Regions from separate parts of the Homo sapiens genome. Here region 2 is linked to region 1. Evidence: promoter capture Hi-C in 16 types of primary human blood cells and fetal thymus (Javierre and others, 2016). All regions are on one chromosome and are shown on one strand. The core of a region is centred on a gene start or on the middle of the fragment in contact, and the rest is flanking DNA. Distances in the headings are between cores, read along the strand shown.

What was found. Contacts are between HindIII fragments. The CHiCAGO score rates a contact against its expected background, and 5 or more counts as called.
Region 2: a contact is called between a fragment that was not itself captured here and the fragment with the promoter of OR1G1 in region 1, in 2 of 17 cell types (endothelial precursors and M2 macrophages). The highest score is 7.0, in endothelial precursors.

The regions. Positions count from the first base shown.
Region 1 is chr17:3,125,827-3,129,081 of GRCh38, reverse strand. OR1G1 (olfactory receptor family 1 subfamily G member 1) reads left to right here and starts at 1,531. Exons shown (of 1, transcript NM_003555.1): 1 at 1,531-2,472. The coding sequence starts at 1,531. The coding sequence ends at 2,472. The HindIII fragment of the contact is 3,090 bases long and covers 496-3,255 here.
Region 2 is chr17:3,191,950-3,195,204 of GRCh38, reverse strand. No RefSeq gene overlaps it. Among named protein-coding and RNA genes, the nearest start is that of OR1A2, 3.9 kb to the left of the region's middle. The HindIII fragment of the contact is 1,007 bases long and covers 1,312-2,318 here.

The DNA.
Region 1 (3,255 bases), core at 282-2,781:
GAGACAAGGGAATCACTTGAGCCCAGCAGGTGGAGACTGCAGTGAGCTGAGTTCGTGCTACTGCACTCCAGCCTGGGTGACAGAGTGAGACTCCATCTCAAAAATCATAACAATAATAATAAAGGTTCAGGCTAATTCTTATGCCTGATATTACCTCTATAGCAAAGCCCCTTTCCATTCTTCCCACTCTTTCCATTCTCTGGGGTTTATGTATTTACATGATAGATTCATACTGAGCATCTGTGTTGTACCAGCCTCAAGGCTAATGCTAGATTTCAAAGCTGAGCCAATTAGGCACCATCTCTGCCTACTCCCAGTGATGCTCACAGCAGAATGAGGGACACTCATATAAACAGACACTCAGAATCCAAGGTGACACGTGCTGTGATGGGGGAGGCACTGCATTAGGAAGGTCACGAACCTGAGTTTCTGGTGAGAGGATGAGTTGGGAAAGACTTCCCAGAAGAGGTGACATCTAAGGTGAGACCTGAAGCTTAGCTCGTCTGATAAATGGGATGGGAAAAACTATTTCAGCCTGAGAAAGCCTAAAGGTGAGGGAGTATCTGGGCCTTTAAAATAATTGAAACTATGATTAGTGCATAAAGTGTGGAGTGGAGGAGGGAGTTTCATGAGGAACTGGGGATGTCTGTAATAAATGACGGTAAGATCCAGGACATTCAGCCGTGTTCAGTTTAGAGTTTATCCTGGGAGTAATGAGGAGTGTATGAAGGATTTTTCAAGCAGAAAGACAAGAGTCGAATTTGATTTTTAGCAAGCCTATTCTCTGTGTATTTAGAACAGCAGGTGGCAGGTGGGCATACCTGGGGGCATGGAGATCAACTGCCCAAATCCAAGTGAGAAATCACAGTGCCCTGAATGACATGAGCTGCAGCTGGGACTGATGGTGACCAGTAAACAGAGAGACGTCAGTAAATTGTAGCCATATTGAGAAGGTAAAATTGCCAGGCTTTGGTGGTGGTTGGATGTAGGCAGGGAGGGAGAAACGTGGGTCAATAATGACGCTCAGGTTTCTGGCCAGACCCGCTGTGTAGATAACAGTGATAATGATTTCCATGTTAGCCATGCTTTTCCCAATTCCAAAACCCCTTTCCAGGAGCTGTCTTTTTAATTATTGGTACAATGGGCTCATTTGACCTGTAAAATCTTGGGTTGTATAAATGTCATAGTTTCTACATGAACACTACCAGAGCAAAGCCAGCAAGCCCCTCCAGCCCAGCCCCAAAATACACATATTGGCTTAATGCTTATGGAATAAATTTAAAAGCCTCTCATTGCATTACAAACAAATCTGTGGTTTCTCATAGCACCAAGCACAGGAATTTGCAAATATTTAGTCGAACCCTATGAAATGGCCATTTTTGCAGGTCCCAAAGAGTCAAATAGTGGAGATTTCCTATGATCCAACCTCACACTAGAAGATCAACACTGGAATATTGCATAATTTTCAGAGTTCACAATCCAGGGCTTACCAACGTCACCCAATTAACCCAACTTTCTTCCTACAGACAAATGGAGGGGAAAAATCTGACCAGCATCTCAGAATGTTTCCTCCTGGGGTTCTCTGAGCAGCTGGAGGAGCAGAAGCCCCTCTTTGGGTCCTTCCTGTTCATGTACTTGGTCACGGTGGCAGGCAACCTCCTCATCATTCTAGTCATCATTACTGACACTCAACTCCATACCCCCATGTACTTCTTTCTAGCCAACCTCTCCCTTGCAGATGCCTGCTTTGTGTCCACCACAGTCCCTAAGATGCTGGCAAACATACAGATCCAGAGTCAGGCCATCTCCTACTCAGGGTGTCTACTACAGTTGTATTTTTTCATGTTATTTGTGATGCTGGAGGCATTCCTCTTGGCGGTCATGGCCTATGACTGCTACGTGGCCATATGCCACCCACTTCATTACATTCTGATCATGAGCCCTGGGCTCTGCATCTTCCTCGTGTCTGCATCCTGGATCATGAATGCCCTCCACTCCCTTCTACACACACTTCTGATGAACAGCCTGTCCTTCTGCGCAAACCATGAGATCCCACACTTCTTCTGTGACATCAATCCCCTCCTGAGTCTGTCCTGCACAGACCCCTTCACCAATGAGCTGGTGATCTTCATCACTGGGGGTCTCACAGGACTCATTTGTGTGCTTTGCCTGATTATCTCTTACACGAACGTTTTCTCGACCATCCTGAAGATCCCATCAGCTCAGGGGAAGCGGAAAGCCTTTTCCACCTGCAGCTCTCATCTCTCCGTGGTCTCTCTCTTCTTTGGGACTTCTTTTTGTGTTGATTTCAGTTCTCCCTCAACCCACTCGGCCCAGAAGGACACAGTTGCATCAGTGATGTACACAGTGGTAACTCCAATGTTGAATCCCTTTATCTACAGTTTGAGGAACCAAGAAATAAAGTCTTCCCTGAGAAAGTTAATCTGGGTTCGGAAAATTCATTCCCCTTAGTGGTAGTGACTTGACATCCAATATGGGGGTCTCCATGCACCTGCGTTCACCACAGTAAGCAGTGAAGAATGAAAGATGGAGAGAATCTAGAGACCTCTGTTCCAGTACCTACGATCTGAACCTGAAATATTCATGTCTAAGCTACAGGACTGCATCATAACCCATCATCAGGCCAATGTCACAGGTGAAGTTCTTACAATTATGTTCTAAAACCACAGCCATCCAGATGTATAATATAATGTCATGCCTTATTATATTTACTATAGTTAATAATATTGATGATTTAATAATGTTATTAGTTAATGCTTTTTAAACAACATGGGACAGCTCATGACTGAAATAAGGGAATATCTGGCTGGGCTGTTGTATAGGGCCAAGAATAAAATTCAGGGAAGGACGACCTTCCCCCAGCATCACTGTGATCCTGATCACTCGGATCCCCACCCACAGTGTTTCTGCCACAGGCACTGCCCGTATCTGTGATGCTCCCATGCTCAGTGATGAGGAACTGGGTCTAGGAAGGGCTTGATGGAGATGGCATCTTCAGACAGACTCACTGCAGTGTCTTACCAGGCCTCCAAGACCCATAATCCTCCTGCCACCTTAGACTTCATGTGAAAACCTCAGGTTCCTCTTCAGGGCAATTTTTTCCACACTCATTTCATCTCTGCAGCCCCAATGCTTACCACATGGCGTAATGCCTGGTACCATTGATAGGTGCTGAATCCCACTGAAATGGTTACAACTTAAAGTTAGGGGAAAAGAATGATTTTTATGGACACT
Region 2 (3,255 bases), core at 566-3,065, 66 kb before region 1:
TTGAGCTCCTCCATACCCTTTTTCTCCTTGTCCCAACTGAATGCAAATGGTGAAGAGGCTGAATGTGATGATGGAGTTGCATGGTGAAATGAGCCTATGTCCCTAGCTCTCCATATCCAGCAGAGCCACTCATGACCAAGAGGGCCCACTATGACCATTAGAGAAAAAGAAATTCTTATTTGTTTAAACAATTACTTTTATTTTTTTAAAACACTTTTTTTTTTTTGAGATGGAGTCTTGCTCTGTCACCAGGCTGGAGTGCAGTGGTGCCATCTTGGCTCACTGCAACCTCCACCTCCCAGGTTCAAGTGGTTCTCCTGCCTCAGCCTCCCGAGTAGCTGAGACTACAGGCCTCTGCCACCACACCCATCTAATTTTTGTATTTTTAGTGGAGACAGGGTTTCACCATATTGGCCCGGCTGGTCTCGAACTCCTGACCTTGTGATCCACCTGCCTCGACCTCCCAAAGTGCTGAGATTACAGGTATGAGCCACTATGCCCAGCCTAAACATTTTCTGATGTATTTGTTACTGTAGCCCAATATATCCTAACTTTTTTTCTTAAAACACTTTGCTGAATAGTTAATCCGATCTATAATTAATTCAATCATCAATTCCTGGTGTCTCATATAGTATACATGTGAAGTACATGCTAAGCCCTGGGTATGCAGGTCTAATTATCTTATCCCCAAACATGATGTGTTCTTTCATCTTTGCACCTAAAGTCACTTGGCTTTCTGTCTTGAAATGCCCTTTCTCATCTTCACACAGAATCATAATACCTCAGGTTTCAAAGGATTCAGTAATTTTGGAGGGCTCAGAGACATTATTAGCTCCTATGATACGGAAGTGTAAGATTTCAGACAGAGGAGAACTCTGGGCAACATGGCAAAGCAAACTCATGTTGACAGGTCCTGTTTCTATTAAAACATATTCTAGATAAATTAAAATTTTTTTGTAAATGTAGCTAAGCCCAAGAGAAAACTCAGAGCAGGGGTTTTAGGCTATAACTGATGCTGTGGTGGTCCTTTGGGGTTTTGAACCAGGAATTTGGCTCTCAGGGATGGAGTCTGTGCTATTATTTCCCTTTTGGTACTGGAGATGCAGTCACAGGTCTGCAGAAGCAGGAAGCTTAACTTGAGTCGTCTGCTTAAAATACTTAAAATACTGTCCTATATTTGAAAGGATCATTGTAAGAAACTTTTGCCCCATGAGAATTGGAAAGGAAATAGAGAAAATTCACAGAAAATGTGGTTGTCTAGAAATAAAATCAAAGAGAATCAATAGATACACTAAGAGATTTCAGAAAGCTTGTTAGATATAAATCATTTAAAATAATCAATGCTGTTTTTGTATTTAGGTAAAAATAACTTAGAAAATATAATTTGAAAAAGATCCCCATTCAGAAAGCAACAGAAATTTTAGGGAATCTAGGATGATTCTAACAAAAAAAGCCAAGACTGTTATCAAATATTACAAACCTTTACTTAAGAAGAAAAAAAGAATATCTAAAAACGTGGAGATGAAAGCACCGGTGATAGAAAAACTCAATGTGGTAAAAATGTCAATTCTTCCCAAGTTAATCTATAAATTTGGTGCAATCTAATCAACATACCACAGGTTTATTTTAAACATGGAACTTACCAAACTATCCTAAAATTGACGTAGACAAATAAAGAGCCAAGAAGTCTAAGTCCATTTGAGGAAAAGCATGAGAAAAAAATTACTTTTTCAGGTATTAAAATGAATTACTATGTTCTCAGAAATAAGCTCTAGTATTTGATAGTACAGTAGGGAAATTAGAGTTAACAATAATATATTATTTCAAAATAGCTAGACGAGAAGAATATGATGTTCCCAACACAAAGAAATGCCAAATGTTTGAGACAATGGATATCTCAGTTACCCCAATTAGAGCATTACACATGGTATACAGGTATCAAAATATCACATGTACCCCCCCAAATATATACGACTATTATATATCAATTAAAAAAAGGGAATGAGTTAAAAATGCAAAAAAATAAGGTGTACATATTCCTTAAAAAATGAATTACTGTGGTAGTTGAAGCATTTGAGTAGTTCTGGTGTAGGGACTGAAAATTAAATCTATGTAACAGACTGGAGAGCTCAGAACAGACCAAGCATTGCACCAAGCAATTTATTAGACATTGGTGTATGACATGAGTTGGTTTATAATACTGTAGGCAGAGAAAGGATGGACTGACTTTAGCTAAGAGTGCTGGAACAATGGGATACCCATTTATTTAAAAAGTGCAGAAAAATAATTCCCAAGGGATTAATTGTAAGAGCAAAGCTTCCAAATTTTAGAAGAAAATAGAGAAAATATATTTGTGATATAATTTATTTCTTAAACCACATAAAACATGAAAGAGAATATTGTAAAATTTGACTACATTAAAAATGGAAAACATTTGGTAAAAAACATACCGTAAGGAGGGGGAAAGATGAGCCATGAACTGAAAGAGGTATTTGCAGAACACATAATCGATAAGGAATTCATATTCAGAATACGTAGGAGTCCTATACACTAATAAGATAATTTTTAAAATTTTTGTAGAGACAGGGTCTCGCTATGTTCCCCAACCTGATCTTGAACTCCTGGCCTCAAGTGACTCTCCCATCCCAGCCTCTCAAAGAGTTAGGACTACAGGTATGAGCCAGCATGTCTGACCTCATTTTATAAAAAATAATGTGATTGAAGAAAGAAGTTACTGAAAGATATATACTATATCATATAATATGTGTAAATTTTAATGGATAAAATAATACATGTGTATGTAGTCAAAGTATAAATCCTGACTGGGAGCGTACTACCAACTCTAGAATTGCAGTTATGTCTGGAGGTAAAGGGGAAAAAATTAGATTTTGGATGGAAAAAAAGGGAGTCTCAAAAGTATTTGTAGTATTTATTTATTTAAAAAACTTAGAATAACTAAGACCACATTCTTATATTTGTTAAATCTAGATAATAAATTTTTGTTATATTATTCTCTTTGTTTTGCTGATGTTTTAATCATACTATTATAATAAACACATTTAATAATTTAAGGTAAAGATTTCACATATTTGATAATAATTGGATCAAAAGTGTGTCCATGGCACTGGGAAAAGATTGAGAATAAATGGGGAGAAAAAATGTATTTACATGCTCAGCCAGGCTTATTAGTAGAGAAATTTGCTTACTGGCCCCAAAATTACATTTAGAAAATGCAAGTGATGGTGTCTGTCTCTT